Linked DNA regions of Homo sapiens: all the other regions are linked to region 3. Evidence: promoter capture Hi-C in 16 types of primary human blood cells and fetal thymus (Javierre and others, 2016). All regions are on one chromosome and are shown on one strand. The core of a region is centred on a gene start or on the middle of the fragment in contact, and the rest is flanking DNA. Distances in the headings are between cores, read along the strand shown.

Region 1 (3,231 bases), core at 249-2,748, 220 kb after region 3:
CGTGGCCAGGCCCCGGGTGTCTCTCCATCACAGCTGCGGCTCTGGCTTCTTCCGGGAAGTGAGGTGGGGTCGCTCCCCGTGCAGCTGCTGCTGCCGCTGCTTCAACGCTCTGTAGGCCTGCACGGCCCGCTCTCTCTCCTCCTCCACAATCCGCTGGCGGGCCAGGGAGGCGGTCAGAGGCTGGGACACACCACCGGGGCTCAGAAGCATCCGCAGCATCTGCGATCTCCTGCCAGGCTGAGGGAGAGAGGGGAGGGTGAGGCACAGGCTGGGAAAGGAGGGGATGCAACAGAAAGCCTCACAGCTTCAACAGCTCTCCCGCCAGCGAGAACACTGCACTCTCAGGCCACACACCAGACAGCGCACACGTTGGCTGAGGGTTTTTTTTTTTCTTGACACAGGATCTCGCTATGTTGTCCAGGCTGGTATCAACTCCTGGGCTCAAGCAATCCGCCTGCCTTGGCCTCCCAATGTGCTGGGATTACAGGTGTGACCCACCGTGTCCAGCCTGTCCAAGGCTTCTGTTCCCTGGCAGCACTGGGGGACAAACTCAAGTTGTCCCCGTGCCCCACTTACCTGGTCCTTGCTTACGCTCCTCTGGGGCCTGGCAGTCAGCTCTGGGGGCTGCAGGACAACCTCACCAAACTTCACCGTGTCTGGAGGAGCAGAATACAACTGAGGACTGCTGCCCACAGCCACTGCACCCCTGACACCCAGAGCCACCACCCGCCCACCTCCCTCCCATAGGGCTGGGACAGAACACCAACTCATCCAGTGGTCTAATGGCTGTGGACCCCAGGGGAAACCACAGGTGCCCAGTGCAGCCAGGGCTGGTGGGGAACAGAAGGCCTGCGCCCAGGCCCCACCCGGACCACTGCTGACACCATCGCTTTGGGAAGAGCTACCTCGGAGCAACTCCTGCTCCAGCCTGTCTGCCGCCTTTTCCTCCTTTTTCCGTCGGACTTTATCTAGTCGCCGCTTCTGGAACCTGGGGAAGAAAGCACATGTCACTCAGATTCCTAAATTCTCTTTCCACCCAGGGAGGAGGCAGAGGCCGCCCCACCCACAAGGGATCCCCTGTGGCAGAGCAGGGACCCAAGAACAGGTGGCTGCCTCCAAGTCCCCGCTCCCCTTACCACCCCAAAACCCACAGCTGCCCACCAAAGAAGGCTCTGACCCCAACAGGCCCCTCACAGGTCCCCCAGTGGTTCTCAGCTGGGGACAGCTACCTGCCAGGGAACATCTGACAATGTGTGCAGACACGTGGGCAAGGGCTACTGGCACCTTGTGCACGAAGGCTGGGAAGGCTGCCAAAGACCACCCAACAGAGACTCATCCAGCCCATCCGGTGCTGCTGTGTCTAAAGGGCCTAACAAGCATTGTATATCACGTCTCCCTCAATGTGAATCTGGAAGCTTCACCTTCAGCGACAGCTCTGGAGATCACCGTGGCGCCAGGCTGTATCTGGGCCACGTTCTCTGTGATGAACTTTCACTGGCTAAGGTAACTATAAGTAATACAACAATCCAGAAACAGGGAATCTACAGAGCTGAAAGCAACCTCTCAAACCTTCAAAGCTTTTTTTTTTTTTTCTTTTTTTTGAGATGGAGTCTCGCTCTGTCACCAGGCTGGAGTGCAGCGGCACGATCTCAGCTCACTGCAACCTCTGCCTCCCGGATTCAAGCGATTCCACTGCCTCAGGCTCCCAAGTATCTGGAATTACAGGCATGCACCACCACGCCCGGCTAATTTTTTTTTTTGTATTTTATTAGAGACAAGGTTTCACCGTGTTGGCTAGGATGGTCTCGATCTCCTGACCTCGTGATCCACCTGCCTCAGCCTCCCAAAGTGCTGGGATTACAGGCGTGAGCCACTGTACTCGGCCAAAGCTTTTAGAGAATTAGGAAGGTGTAGTCTCTTGGACGAGAGACATTCTGTTCTAATGGAAACAGAACCCCTGGGCACGTCACCCTCAGACCGACCCCCTCAGGGCTGATTCCCACAGGGCTAGGGCTTTCTGGTGCTTTTCCTGTGAAAGCAAGGACCAAGCGAGGTCTCCGCAGAGTTCCCAGGTTCCGCAGCCTCCTGGAGGCCACACCCTCACTGGCTCCCAGCTGGATGCTCCGACTCGCCAACTCCCAGGGCTCTGGCTTGGTCTCCCTGAATCCAGGCTGCCCCATGGCTATGAAACAGGGTACCTGCAGAGGGCCGTCATGGGAACCCAATGTCTTCCCTCCGGCTCCCAGGGCAGACCCCTCCCCCTCCCGCCTCCACTCACGCTTTTTTTGCTTTTTTCTGCTCAGACTTCTCCTTGGGAGCTGCCTGCACCTCTGGCTGCCGGATGGCCTGGTTCTTGCTGAGGAACAGCACATGCTGGGCCTCTTGCTGCATGCGGTGGATATAGGCCCCGTCAGACTCCCCCTTCCTCTGTTTGAACTTGGGGACTGCGATGTCGGGCTCCTCTCCCTTTGCTTCCTTCTCCAATGTCTTTCTGAAGGTCACCTGGGCTGAGGACAAAGGGAGGCCTCAGAGGAGGCAGGAGGCAGACAGTGGCAGGCAGGTGACCCATGCTCATTTCCCCTCCCAAAGCCACAGGAAGGGAAGACCAGGCTGGCTGGAAGCACCCCAACGACAGCAGCTGAAGAGGATGTAGAATGCCCGGCCCGGCATCCCCGGGGACGTGACCCCCCAGCCCAATGGCACCTGTCACAGATGTCCACTGCAGCACAGCTGAAAAAGGAAAGCAGAAACAACCTAATGTCCACCCCTAGGTGGCTGGTTGAATGAATTCTCCTCTGATCACCCACAGACTCCATTGCACAGCTGCCGAAAGAAGCCCAGTGGAGCTACACAGAGAAACGTGGGCAGACCTGCCGGGCGCGGTGGCTCATGCCTGTAATCCCAGCACTTTGGGAGGCCAAGATGGGCAGATCACAAGGTCAGGAGATTCAGACCATCCTGGCTAACACGGTGAAACCCTGTCTCTACTAAAAACACAGAAAAAATTAACTGGGCATGGTGGTGGGCGCCTGTAGTCCCAACTACTCGGGAGGCTGAGGCAGGAGAATGGCGTGAACCCGGGAGGCGGAGCTTGCAGTGAGCCGAGATTGCGCCACTGCACTCCAGCCTGGGCGACTGAGCGAGACTCCATCTCAAAAAAGAAACGTGGGCAGACCTATGACATCCACTGAGAACGCAAGCGCAGGACCCCGGGCGAGTGTAGAACACAGG
Region 2 (3,185 bases), core at 643-3,142, 160 kb before region 3:
GGCTAGGGCTGTGGTTGGACCCAGGCAAGGTGTCCAGGCATGTCAGACAGCCACGTTGTGCCCTGGCCCTTGGGGGCAGGTGGGGCACAGGCCTTACCCCAACCCCAGTGCCATCCTCTACGTGCGTGCTTCCCGTCTCTGATTCGCAGGCGACCGTGTCATCAACACCAACTGCTCGGCGGTGCGCACTCGTCAGGCCCTCTGCTGCAAGATGTCCGTGGAGTATGACAAGTTCATTGAGTCCGGGCGCAAGTACGCGGCGCTGACCCGACCCGCAGAGAGCTCAGAGCCAAGCTGGGTGGGGGCCTCCTGTCCAGCCATGCCAGGCCCTCGTGCCCAGGACTCCCCTCGCCCACAGGTGGTTTTGCCACGTGGATGATGACAATTATGTGAACGCCAGGAGCCTCCTGCACCTGCTCTCCAGCTTCTCACCCAGCCAGGACGTCTACCTGGGGCGGCCCAGCCTGGACCACCCCATTGAGGCCACCGAGAGGGTCCAGGGTGGCAGAACTGTGAGTGTCGGAGCAGACGCCATCGGAGCAGACGCCTTCCTTGACACCAGCCCGGGAGGCACAGCAGAGGGCGTGGAAAGCTGGCTTGAGAAGGGCATAGGGTTGGGGGCCCAAGCTGATCCACCCAGGTGGTTTGCATGTGGTGTTTCAGGAGCAGGCCAGGAGGCCCTCACCGTACTGGGCAGAGAGGGGGTGTCTGGGCCAGGTGGGGAGGGTCTGGAGGCTACGGGTCAATGGCCTGCAGAAGCCCCCGGCTCTTTTTGCTCCAAGAAGCTTCTGTTACCTGGGTGGGATCTCCTAAGGGGCAGCTTAAGAAAGATGCCTGGGGAGTCCCATGAAGAGTCAGGGGTGAGAAGCCCTGTCCTGGGCAGCTCTGACCACCACCCCATCTTCAGGTGACCACGGTCAAGTTCTGGTTTGCTACTGGTGGGGCCGGGTTCTGCCTCAGCAGAGGCCTTGCCCTCAAGATGAGCCCATGGGCCAGGTGAGTGGGGGTCCAGCTGCCCGGGCTGGGAGGCGGAGGCTGAGACCTGAAAGGTGCTGACCGGCCTCCCCCCAGCCTGGGCAGCTTCATGAGCACAGCTGAGCAGGTGCGGCTGCCGGATGACTGCACAGTTGGCTACATCGTGGAGGGGCTCCTGGGCGCCCGCCTGCTGCACAGCCCCCTCTTCCACTCTCACCTGGAGAACCTGCAGAGGCTGCCGCCCGACACCCTGCTCCAGCAGGTACAGGCGCCACTCTGGGTGCCTCTGCCACCTGGGCTTTGCCCCGCCCTGACTCCCCCAGGGGCCCCACTGCCCCGGCCCGATGCCCGGCTGAGCAGGCAGGTGGGATTTGCATGTGGCTGGGGGTGGACCCTGGACAGGCCCCTTGGCCTGTTGGACACAGGGTCCTCACGTACAGATGGGGTATGGTGTCTGGGGCAGAGGAACGAGGGGAGAAGCACAGTTCTCGGGCCAGTGAGGCCCCATGCCAGCTGGGCAGTGGGTGTGGTGTGTATGGTGATGGTGAGTCGGAACAGGTCCCATCACGTGGAGCAGGGAGGGAATGAGGGTCAGCTTTGCCCTGGAGGTTTCAGATCCCTATCTTCTGTCCCCCAGGCTCTGCCTGAGGTGTCCCCCTACTCAGCTCATGCCATGCTTCAATGCTGTTTCCAAGCCTGGCCTCCCCGAGGGCCTGGGGAGAGGGGGTGGGCAAAGGGGCTCTAGCAGGGCTCCTGGCCAGGGGCAGGCGTGGCCCGAGACCAGACCAGGCCACACACTCTGCCCACACCCTTCCCTCCCAGGTTACCTTGAGCCATGGGGGTCCTGAGAACCCACATAACGTGGTGAACGTGGCTGGAGGCTTCAGCCTGCATCAAGACCCCACACGGTGAGTAGGTAGTGGCATGGGCAGGCCCTCGGCCCCGCAGGGGCTCTGGCATCAGCTCCCTCTACCCACGGCCCTGACCCCCGCTGCTCCCTCCGCCCACGGCCCTGACCCCGGCTTCTCCCTGTACCCACGGCCCTGACCCCAGGTTCTCCCGCCGCCCACGGCCCTGGCCCCCGCTTCTCTCTCCGCCCACGGCCCTGACCCCTACTTCTTCCTTCCCCAGGTTTAAGTCTATCCATTGTCTTCTGTACCCAGACACGGACTGGTGTCCCAGGCAGAAACAGGGCGCCCCGACCTCTCGGTGACACCAACCACCCCGACCCAGGGCTGCCTGGCTCTGTCCCAGGCGCGGGGAACCAGAGCCCCCTATGGGCTCAGTGGGCTCCCTCAGGTGCCACGGCCACACCAGTGAGATGCAGGCACCTGGCAGACCCTCTGGCTAGCCTGCAGCCCCCCCTCTCCCAGCCCCTGGTGGGCTGCGGTGATGGGTGTTTTGGGAGAACGAAGACAGCCAGGCTGATGGCCAGGGCCGCAGTGCCCCTCCCCCCGACCCAGCCCCAAGGTTGATCCCACGGGAACAGGCTTCCACCCCAGCACTTGCGCACCTGGGAGGGAGCTGCCATCCGGGCTCCATTACCTGTTGCTGAAGGCGGGTGCTAGGCTGGCTGGGTGTCAAGGAGCAGGCTCCAGGCCAAGGTCCTGGCCCAGCCACGGCCATTGCAAGGGCTCAGCCTGGCAGGCTTTGTGGGGGACGCCGCCCTCTCTGCCGCAGGCTGGGTGCACGGCCGGGCACCACAGTGGGACTCAGGCCCGGGAAGGTCATGTTCTCGACCAGAGCTTTGCTCCCAGTCCAGGCGCCTCATTCGGAGGCCTCTTGACTGGGACCACAGAGATGTTTTCTCCGCTCTGACTTGTGGCTCAGGACTACTTTCTGGGTCGTGCTCCTGCCCCACTGTGCCTGGGCCCATAAACAACAGGAGCCTTTTGTTCCGCTGACCTGCCCATCCCAGCAGACCCACCTCCCCGCCTGGTGCCTTCCATGGAGGGAAATGGGACAGGGGCCGTCATCTCCCCTCTGCCTCCTGCTTTGCTGTTGCCGAGCACGAGTAAAGCTTTTGTTCTTACTTCACGTGGCTCCTGTCTTAGTCACCCACCGGCCCAGCTCTCCTCGGGTCCCTGCCATATCCCCCTTCTACCCCAGGAAGGCTCTGTCCCAGGCAGGGCTGTATCCTTGCCGTCCTGCCCACCCAGCCTTGAACCCACCAGACTCTTCTTTGGAAGCCAAAATCTCCAGCAGAGGTG
Region 3 (3,005 bases), core at 220-2,719:
CCTGGGCAACATAGTGGGACTGTCTCAAAAAAAAAAAAAAAAGCCAGCTGTGGTGGCGTGCACCAGCTGCCTGAGAGGCTGACGTGGGAGGATAGCTCGAGCCCAGGAGTTTGAGGCTGCAGTGAGCCAAGATCACACCACTGCACTCCACTCTGGGTGACGGAGGGAGACCCTGACTCAAAAAACAAAAACAAAAGCAAGTATCTCAAAACAACTTAAAATCCATGAAATGGGCTGGGTGTGGTGGCTCATGCCTGTAATCCCAGCACTTTGGGAGGCCAAGGCGGGCGGATCATCTGAGGTCAGGAGTTCAAGACCACCCTGGCCAACATGGCGAAACCCTGTCTCTATTAAAAATACAAACATTAGCCAGGTATGGTGGCACGTGCCTGTAGTCCCAGCTACTCGGGAGGCTGCCGCTGGAGACTCGCTTGAACCCAGGAGGCAGAGGTTGCAGTGAGCCGAGATCGCCCCACTGCACTCCAGCCTGGGCGACAGAATGAGACTGCCTCAAAAAAAAAAAAAAAAAATCAATGAAATGGCACACTGGTTTTCATTAATAAGTTGCAAAAATAATTTTTTTTTGGAGACAGGGTCTGGCTCTGTCGCCCAGGCTGGAGTGCAGTGGTGCCACCACGGCTCACTGCAGCCTCGACCTCCTGGGCTCAAGCAATCCTCCCACCTCGGCCTCCCAAGTAGCTGGTAGTACAGAAGTGCACCACCATGCCCAGCTCATTTTTTTTTTTAGAGATGGGGGTCTCACGATGTTGCCCCGGCTGGTCTCAAACTCCTGGGCTGAAGCGAACCTCTTGCCTCGGCCTCCCAAAGTGCTGGGATTACAGGCGTGAGGCCCGCGCCCGGCCCGCAAGAAAACTTGTAAAGGATATGACTGGCAAAATGTGACAGTGCAGACTTGGGGGGGCTGCAGGTGGAGACCAAAAAACCAACCCGCAGCTCGTCTGCAGCGGCTGCCGCCCGCCGAAGCCGCGCCCGCCGGACCCCACCGCGAGCCGAGCGCACAGTCCTGGGCGGGAGCGGAAACAAGGACTCCCAGCAGCTCCCAGGCACCCGCCGCGCCCGTAGCGCCCCCAGCGCCCCCAGCCCTGGCCGATCGGGCGGAGCGTGCGGGGAGGGAGGGGCGCGTAGGCTCCGCCTCCAACGGCCGCCGCCCCACCCCCTGCGCCCTCGCACCTTCGCCAACCTAATCACGCACCGCCCTACCCGCCCTTCCGTTGGCAGCGCCGGCGTCCGCGCGGGAAGGTATAAAAACGACCACAGTCGCGGCCCGACTCCCTCAACAGCGCCCGCCGAGTCTCGCACGCCAGTGCGCACGCGCCTCCCCGCCTCACCCCGTCCCGCGCGCGCAGCCGTCCGCCAGCGGCCAATCAGCAGCCGCTCCGAGGCCGTGGCACCGGAAGGCCTCACGCGGCGCCGGAAGTGACGTGCCGGCGTGCTGACGCGCGGGCTCGAGCCGATGCCCGATTCCGCGCCCGCCATGGCCGACAAAATGGACATGTCTCTGGACGACATCATTAAACTGAACCGGAGCCAGCGAGGCGGCCGGGGCGGGGGCCGGGGCCGCGGCCGGGCCGGCTCCCAGGGCGGCCGCGGCGGTGGGGCGCAGGCCGCCGCGCGAGTGAATCGAGGCGGCGGGCCCATCCGGAACCGGCCGGCCATCGCCCGCGGCGCGGCCGGCGGAGGCGGCAGGAACCGACCGGCGCCCTACAGCAGGGTGAGTGCGGAGGCCGGCCGCGCCGGAGAGTGGGAGGGGGCCAGCCGGGGCTGGGGCCGGGGCCGCTCGCGGCGGAGACCCGGGCCGGCGGGTGGATAAGGCTGGTGGAGCGGCCGCCCGGAGGTCCGGAGGGTGCGTGTGGGCGCGGAGGGGGTGGTGGGCGGGAGCGAGGTCGTTCTTTCGGGGTCCGGTCCCGGAGGCTGAGACCCTTCCCAGCTCTTTGTTTGTTCCGGACGTTGGGGCCTCGTGGCAGGAGAGGAGGGGACGCTGGGCGCGGCACAGGCGGCGGGAAGTTAGTCTAAGGGAACTGAAGTTGTGCGGCCGCGGTGGGACCGTGCGGCCTCGGGCTGGGGCAGCTGCAGCGCCGGAGGGAGCGCTGGCGGCCCCGTTTCGGCCGGATCCTCTCAGGCCGGGAAGAGGAAGGGTCCGGAGTAGCCGTGAGGGTCAGGAAAGCCCTGGACTGAGACTCACAGATCTGCTCTTGTTGCGGTTTTTTTTTCAGCCAAAACAACTTCCCGACAAGTGGCAGCACGATCTTTTCGACAGTGGCTTCGGCGGTGGTGCCGGCGTGGAGACAGGTGGGAAACTGCTGGTGTCCAATCTGGATTTTGGAGTCTCAGACGCCGATATTCAGGTAAGAGACGAGGGCTTCTCGGTGAGCCGTTCGCCCTGCACAGGACGGATCGTGATTTTGGGGATGTGGCCCTGAGTCCCCTTCCCGCCTTAGCGAAGGGAGCCCTCCCAGCTCTGAAGGGCTGCAGGACAGACCCAGTGCTAGTAAAGCCGGGGTCAGTGCGCAGGCAGGTGCGAGCCTAGCTGAGCCTGAGGAACTGCTGCTGTTAGTCTGAAGATGGGTTCTGTGAGTGAAAATCCCCTGCCAGGGCTTCCAGTTTCTAACAGGGACAAAGACTGACCAAATGTGAGTGGTTTTTGGCTGTTAGACCCAGCCCAGTTGCTTTTTAAATTTTGTGCCTGTCTTAGTGGGTTAATGTGAGAAAAAGAATCTTCTTTATGTATCTTGTGAAGCACAGGGAGTCTGTTTTTCTGGCTCTGTTTGCCTTGAGTACTGTCTTATAAAGACCTTGTACGCTGTGGTTTTATCACTCCCCACCGCCGTGTCCCGTCAGTGACATGACTCTCAAATCCATCTTTGGTTGAAGCTTTTCTTTTTTAAAAAAAGAAAAATTGAATCCCAATGGCATTTCAACTTGTTTTCTGGTTAAGAAATGACTTTTTGGGAATCAGTTTTGGAGATGGCTGGGCAGGGTTCAGT
Region 4 (3,322 bases), core at 38-2,537, 130 kb before region 3:
TGCACCCTGCAGCCTTCCTCAGCTCCTGGGCTCCCTGTCTTCAGGGGGCTTCCAAGGGCCGGCTTGTTTGCCAATGTGAACTCTTGCTCTGGAGATGGTCACACACAGGAGGCCATCAGAGAGCGGCCTGGGGACTCACAGACAGCTTCCAGCCACCTGCCCAGACCCCAGGCCCCCGAGACCTGGCATCTTCCACCTCTCCTCTTGCCCTTGGGTGGCACACTCGGACACTCAAGAGTGCAGGTATCTCACCTTTAAGTCCAGAAAGCGCAGCACGGTGTTGGCACACAGGCCTCGGAGCAGCAGTGTGGCCCCTGTGTAAGGGGGGCCGGCGGTCACTCTCTGCCCCTGCTGACCCCAAGGCCCTCCCCGTGGGCCCCTTTTCAGGGCAGCTCCCTAGACCCAGGAAGGGACAACTGTCCCGATGGTCTGGGTTGGCGCTGGCCAAGAGTCTCGCTGCGAAGTCATGTTTGAAACACCTGCAGCCCCTGCCAGGCACCAAGCCGGCTCTGCACGCGGGGAACCAGGTAAGACCGCGAATGTTAAGGCCTCTCCCCCGTCATACAGAGGAACTGCCCTCTACTCCCAGGTGCAGGAAGGGGCGCCCCTGCTCGCTTTAACTACGGCACAGAAATTGGAGAGCCTGGAGAGGAAGCGACCTCGGGCTGCCGAGGCAATGGTGTGGGCAGCTAAGGAGCAGAGGGATCCACCCCGCCGCGCCTGCCCACCTTCCTCGCTGAGCATGCAGTCACTCAGGACCAGCTCCGTGCACAGCGTCTCCCTCGGCAGCAGCTTGCCCAGGGCCCTGCAGGTCTCCACCGTCAGGCTTTGCGTGGCCAGGTCCAGCCGGCCCCTGGGAAGCTGGTGCAGCTGCTGCAGGACAGCCTCCTGGGGCTCGGCCCCACTCTCCCTGCACAGGCGGCTGTAGGAGCGCCGGAACTCCTCCATGACCCGCGGGGCCGGCAGGGCCTCCTCCGCATGCTCCCGCAGCTGCTGAAAGGGAGCCGCGCGGTGCGGAGCAGTCCCAGCGCCGGGTACAGGAGACGGGGCCTCCGCCGACCCGGGCGGAGAGCAATCCGAGTGGGCTCCGCGGGCGGGAGGTCCTGGGAGCGCGGGGCTGGGCGGTAGTCAAGGTCCGCTTTGGGCTGGGGCCCCGCAGTGCTTGGGGACCACCCGTGCAGGAAGCAGGCAGGTGCGTCGCGCGCCCCCACCCAGCCCTGCCCCGCCTGCAGCCCCGACCCCCGCCCTCGCGACAGCCGCGTCGGGGCCTCAGTATCCAGGAAGAACAAGGCGCGCCGGGAGAGGCCGCGGGAACTACAACTCCTAGCAGGCTCTGCGCAGGCAGCGCTTGGTGCGGGCCAATGAGAACAAAGGAACTGGCGCGCCTTTCGGGCCGCAAGCTGAGAGGGGGCAGCGCGCTCCAGGTTCATTGGCTAGGGGCATGAGGGTGGGGCCCCGGGAGGGCATGCTCCGGGCTCATTGGCTGAGGGTCGTGAGGGTGGTGCCCCGGGAGGGCGCGTTCCAAGTTCATTGGCTGCGGGACGTGAGGGAGGGGCTGCTGGAGGGCGCGCTCCGGGCTCATTGGCTGAGACGTGGGGGCGGGGCTCCGAGAGCAGGCGCTTCGGACTCATTGGCTAGGGGCGCGGGGCGGGGCTCCGGGGGCGCGCTCCGGTCTCATTGGCTGGAGGCGCGGGGCGGGGTTCCGGTGGGCGCGCGTTGAGGCTGCGGTCATGGAGGGAGCAGGAGCTGGATCCGGCTTCCGGAAGGTGAGGGCCGGAGGGCAGGGGCTAGGCAGGCGCGGACGCTCCGTCCCGACCTCACGCGTGACACTGTGAGGGCCAGACGCCAGCCCCCGCGCCGCCCCCTGTGCCTTTGAGGTTGGGCCCGTTCTCAGACTCCATCTCCGGCCGGGCCGCGCGCCCCGCGCCCTCGTGGGCTGGTGTCTCGCAGCTGGTAGGAGGGGGCGTGGAGCAGCCGGGGCTGCGGGAAGGTGGAGAGGGTCTGCAGAAACAGGCAGGGGTGGGCGCCGTCACGGCGGAGTCCAAGCCGGCGAAGAGAGAGGAGGAGCTGGGCCGCCGCCCTGCGCCCTGAGCCTGGGGTCTTTTGTTAAGGGGAGATGAGGCCCCAGGACGGGGACAGTGAGATCGTCCAGCCCGAGGAGCCGGCAGGACCTACCCCAGCCGCCAGGCACAGTGGTTTCCCTTTTGTTTGCTCCCCGGTGGGCGCCAGCACTGGGCTAGGAACGCGTGGTTTCTTCGGTGCTCCACGTTACACACACTTGACAGGGATTAACCCCACCTGCCAGTGGAGAAACTGAGGCACGGGGGCGTTAAGTGACTCAGCAGGGCTAGGGTCAGACCTAGGCCGTCTGAGCCAGGATCCGCCCAGGCTGGAGGGCGTGCCCTGCTCTTCCCTGTTCCTGGAAGTGGAGCTCTCTGGGGGTGCCATGTGCAGAGGACCCCATCGGTGCAGGCAGAGTGGTTTCTGAACCTTTCTACTGCTCTACCTGAAGGTTGGGGCACCGAGCTTCCTCGATGTCAGCAGGGCCTCGTGGGCCTCTGTGGCCTGGGAAGGGAGGGTCTCAGGCCCTTGTGAACCCATCCTGGAGGGAGGACTTCAGCCCTGTAGAAGCAGGGAGAATTCTGTTTCTCCTGAATCAGGCCCTTCTTTATCACCCAAGGCAGCAGGCGTGGGGGGCGGGGGGTGTCGGTGTGGGGAACTCTGGTGGTGGAGTTGAAGATTCTTGCCGGAATTCAGAAAGAGAAAGTCACTGAGGCTTGGGCCACCTCACTGGGTGGTTGTGAGAACACCAGGTTAAAGTAGCCAAAAGGCCACTGCCGGAGACGGGGCACTGGGTACACACCCCAGGAGGTCATGTGTTCTATCAAGCCCACCTGACAACTAGAGGCCCAGGGGCTCTGGCCAGAGCTGGAGTTGTGGTCATTGCAGAGAATGAGCGTGAGAATGACGGGGAGTGGGGGGCCCGTAGCCCTGGCGTGGCGCCCACGTCATGGGGCAAAGCTGGCTGTGTCCTAGGCACCCTCCACAACCGCCCCAGTGCTGGGCCTGCCTTCCGAGGCCACTGCCGATGTACGGGGAAGCCCCATGGATTGTCGAGGCAGACCTGGCATCCGCCACTCTCTGGCGTGGTCTTCCTTCCAAGGCCTGGGGCAGCAGTGTTGGGGGTCCCGGAGCAGGTGGGGAGATAGTGCCTTCTCTACCTTTTCTGGTGCCTTTCTGGTACTGCTGGCAGTAAGCAGCTGGAAGGACCAGCAGGTGGCACTGGGCTCATGCGGGTGGTGACTGGGACCCTGGCTAGGGA
Region 5 (3,178 bases), core at 134-2,633, 240 kb before region 3:
TGGTGGCGGGTGCCTGTAATCCCAGCTACCCGGGAGGCTGAGGAAGGAGAACCGCTTGAACCAAGAAGTCAGAGGTTGCAGTGAGCCGAGATTGCGCCACTGCACTCCAGCCTGGCGACACAGCGAGACTCCATCTCAAAAAAAAAAAAAAGAAAAGTCTCCTGAAAGCTTTATTTTATTTGACATTTAGAATTCAATTTTGAGAAGGAAAAAAAAATGTCAGGAGATTTGAACATTAAGACTCATGGGTACCTGAGAAATAATATTTAGCTACCCACGTGAAAGTGACAAAAAGCTTAAACATAGGAGAGAACAGTTATAGAGAAACTTAGCTCTTTCATAAGCATGGGAAGCTTTGTTTTCTGAAACCATCAAGACATAATAAGTCAACAAAAGCACGGAAAATTACCCTGGTAAGACAGCACCTTTGCTGTCTGAACAGATTACATAGAAAGTAAAGAATAACCCTTCATAGTTTAGGGGAAGTCAATAAATAGTAAACGAAGGAAGGCTGGGTGCAGTGGCTCACGCCGGTAATCCCAGCACTTCGGGAGGCCGAGGTGGGCGGATCATAGGATGCTTGCAGGAGTTCAAGACCAGCCTGGCCAACACGGTGAAACCCCTTGTCTACTAAAAATACAAAAATTAGCCGGGCATGGTGGCAGGTGCCTGTAATCCAAGCTACTGAAGAGGCTGAGGCGGGAGAATTGCTTGAACCTGGGAAGTGGAGGTTGCAGTGAGCCAACATCACACCACTGCACTCCATCCAGCCTGGATGACAGAGCAAGACTCTGTCTCAAAAAAAAAAAAAAAAAAGTAGTACACCAAGGAAACAAACCCATCAAAATTGGGCTAACTTTGCTAAGATTTTAACACATTTCATGGCTTTTTAAAAAACTAGCTTTCTTTCAACCAAGTAAGGATTGAGAAAACAAGACCTAGCTTTCAGCTGGGTGCAGTGGCTCATGCCTCTAATCCCAGCCCTTTGGGAGGCCAAGGGAGGAGGATCACTTGAGGCTAGGAGTTTGAGACTAACCTGGGCAGAATAGTGACACCCTGTCTCTACTAAAAAACAAAAAACTTGGCTGGGTGTGGTCCCAGCTACTTGGGAGGCTGAGGTGGGAGGATCGCTTGAGCCCAGGAGGTGGAGGCTGCAGTGAGCCGCGATTGCACCACTGCACTCCAGCCTGGGTGACAGAGCAAGACTCTGTCTCAAAAAAACTAGTTTTCTTTTTTTTTTTTTTTTTTTGGTACTATACATATAAAATGTACTGTTGAAAGCTCATGAAGTATACAAAGTATACAGTTCAGTGCATTAAGCACGTCAAGAATGTTGTGCGAGCATCATCATTTGTTCCAGAATTCCTTTCACTTCAGAGGAAACCCCACACTCATTCGCAGTTGCTTCCTGTCCCCCGCCCAGCACCCACATTCTGCCTCCATGCCTTTGCCTGTTCTGGACGTTTCACTTCAGCAGGATCCCACAGGATGTGTCCCTTTGTGCCTGGCTTCTTTCCCTCTGTGTCCTGTTTGAGGGTCCCTCGTGCTGGGGCGTCTGCACTTAATTCCTTTCCATGGGAAGAGCTCTTTGCTGGGGGACAGGCCACTGTAGGCATTTGTCCATCAGTTTGATGGACATTTGGATGGTTTCCGCCTTTGGGCTATTGTGAATAATATTGCTGTGAACATTCAGTTCTCTTGGATGCCTCCCTAGAAGTGGCCTTGCTGGGTCATGTGGGAATTCTGTGTCTAACCTGGTAAGGAGCCACCAAACCGCCTCCCATGCCCACCAGCTGCGCACGAAGGTTCTGATTTCTCCACATCTGCACCAGCACTTGCTATTTTCTGTCGGGGTTTTTTTTAATTAAGAATACTTTTATTGCATATCTTTAAAAACTTTATTTTTTTTATATTTAAAAAAATTTCTTTTAAAAATAGAGGTGGGATCTCACTGTGTTGCCCACGCCAGTATCCAACACCTGACATCAAGGATCCCCCCCACCCGGCCTCCCAGTGTGCTGGGGTTACAGGTGTGAGCCACCGCACCCAGCTGTTTTCTATCCTGTTGATCCCAGCCAACCTAGTGGGTGTGAGGCGGGATCCCATAGTGGGCTTGATTTTACATTCTCCTGGTGACCAATGGTGTTGAGTGTCTTCAGGAGGTTTTTGCCCACACGTGCATCTTCTGACTTCATGGCTTTTAAATTCAGGTGTTTATAAACCAAGGGAAACACGTTCATTTCCAAGTGTCATCTTTGGGTTCTTTTATTGCGTAGAAGAAACTGATGCTTTACTTGAGGGCCCATCTCGGGATGTCCACAGGGCAGAGCTAATCCTGCGATGCTCCTCAGATGTTGATCATAAGCAATATGTTCATCATGGCTAACTTCAAGTTAATTGATAAAAAAGCTTTAAAATTTTTCTGTTTTGACCAGGCACATGGCTCACACCTGTATTCCCAGCACTTTGGGAGGCCAAGGCGGGCAGATCACCTGAGGTCGGGAATTCGAGACCAGCCTGACCAACATGGAGAAACCCCGTCTCTACTAAAAATACAAAATTAGCCGGGCGTGGTGGCGCATGCCTGTAATCCCAGCTACTTGGGAGGCTGAGGCAGGAGAATTGCTTGAACCCAGGAGGTGGATGTTCTGGGGGTGTCGAGATCGCGCCACTGCACTCCAGCCTGGGGGACAAGAGCGAAACTCCATCTCAAAAAAAAAAATGTCTGTTTCAATTTCCAATATGTGAAATGTCAACAGTTATAAACACCCTCCAAAAACCTTGTTGGAATCCTCAGTGAGTTTAACGAAACTGATTTGTAATCCTGGGAAATGTTATTTCAGTAATTATGTCTTCTGATGTGTCTGCTTAGAGAAGGAGCAGATCTTTACATAACATAACATGAATGGAATTGATGAAAGGATCTCGTTTGATGTGGGGTCATTTCTAAGTAAGCTAGCATGCCGAAGCTTTGAGTAGAACCATCATTTTTAAGTTGTTATACTTAAGCTTTTGCTTCTTTTGTTTGTTTGTTTGCTTGCTTTTTGAGATGGAGTTACCCAGGATGGAGTGCAGTGGCATGATCTCGGCTCGCTGCAACCTCTGCCTCCCGGGTTCAAGCAATTCTTCTGCCTCAGCCTCCCGAGTAGCTGGGATTACAGGTGCCCACCACCACGCC

The links. Contacts are between HindIII fragments. The CHiCAGO score rates a contact against its expected background, and 5 or more counts as called.
Region 1: a fragment that was not itself captured here is called in contact with the fragment with the promoter of ALYREF in region 3 in 10 of 17 cell types (naive B cells, erythroblasts, megakaryocytes and 7 more); the score reaches 8.5 in naive B cells.
Region 2: a contact is called between a fragment that was not itself captured here and the fragment with the promoter of ALYREF in region 3, in 2 of 17 cell types (erythroblasts and endothelial precursors). The highest score is 5.6, in erythroblasts.
Region 4: the fragment with the promoter of LRRC45 here is called in contact with the fragment with the promoter of ALYREF in region 3 in 1 of 17 cell types (endothelial precursors); the score reaches 5.2 in endothelial precursors.
Region 5: a fragment that was not itself captured here is called in contact with the fragment with the promoter of ALYREF in region 3 in 1 of 17 cell types (endothelial precursors); the score reaches 5.1 in endothelial precursors.

What each region holds. Positions count from the first base shown.
Region 1 is chr17:81,669,501-81,672,731 of GRCh38, reverse strand. CCDC137 (coiled-coil domain containing 137) reads right to left here. Exons shown (of 6, transcript NM_199287.3): 3 at 2,279-2,507; 4 at 906-988; 5 at 577-656; 6 at 1-237. The coding sequence ends at 28. Among named protein-coding and RNA genes, the nearest start is that of CCDC137, 4.4 kb to the right of the region's middle. The HindIII fragment of the contact is 162 bases long and covers 1,418-1,579 here.
Region 2 is chr17:82,047,729-82,050,913 of GRCh38, reverse strand. It overlaps RFNG (RFNG O-fucosylpeptide 3-beta-N-acetylglucosaminyltransferase), which reads left to right. Exons shown (of 8, transcript NM_002917.2): 3 at 150-252; 4 at 359-512; 5 at 908-996; 6 at 1,072-1,237; 7 at 1,798-1,883; 8 at 2,107-3,012. The coding sequence ends at 2,188. Among named protein-coding and RNA genes, the nearest start is that of RFNG, 2.5 kb to the left of the region's middle. The HindIII fragment of the contact is 2,210 bases long and covers 788-2,997 here.
Region 3 is chr17:81,890,050-81,893,054 of GRCh38, reverse strand. It overlaps ALYREF (Aly/REF export factor), which reads left to right and starts at 1,469. Exons shown (of 6, transcript NM_005782.4): 1 at 1,469-1,732; 2 at 2,235-2,366. The coding sequence starts at 1,475. It overlaps ANAPC11 (anaphase promoting complex subunit 11), which reads right to left and starts at 1,332. Exons shown (of 4, transcript NM_001002248.3): 1 at 1,214-1,332. RefSeq lists silencers at 1-32, 913-1,452. The HindIII fragment of the contact is 23,230 bases long and covers 1-2,894 here.
Region 4 is chr17:82,021,270-82,024,591 of GRCh38, reverse strand. LRRC45 (leucine rich repeat containing 45) reads right to left here and starts at 1,287. Exons shown (of 17, transcript NM_144999.4): 1 at 729-1,287; 2 at 253-314. The coding sequence starts at 948. CENPX (centromere protein X) reads left to right here and starts at 1,714. Exons shown (of 5, transcript NM_001271006.2): 1 at 1,714-1,766. The coding sequence starts at 1,731. RefSeq lists enhancers at 314-1,237, 2,787-3,322 and a silencer at 974-2,023. The HindIII fragment of the contact is 18,366 bases long and covers 1-3,322 here.
Region 5 is chr17:82,134,652-82,137,829 of GRCh38, reverse strand. The region is part of intron 15 of CCDC57 (coiled-coil domain containing 57); the gene reads left to right. Among named protein-coding and RNA genes, the nearest start is that of FASN, 38 kb to the right of the region's middle. The HindIII fragment of the contact is 2,056 bases long and covers 356-2,411 here.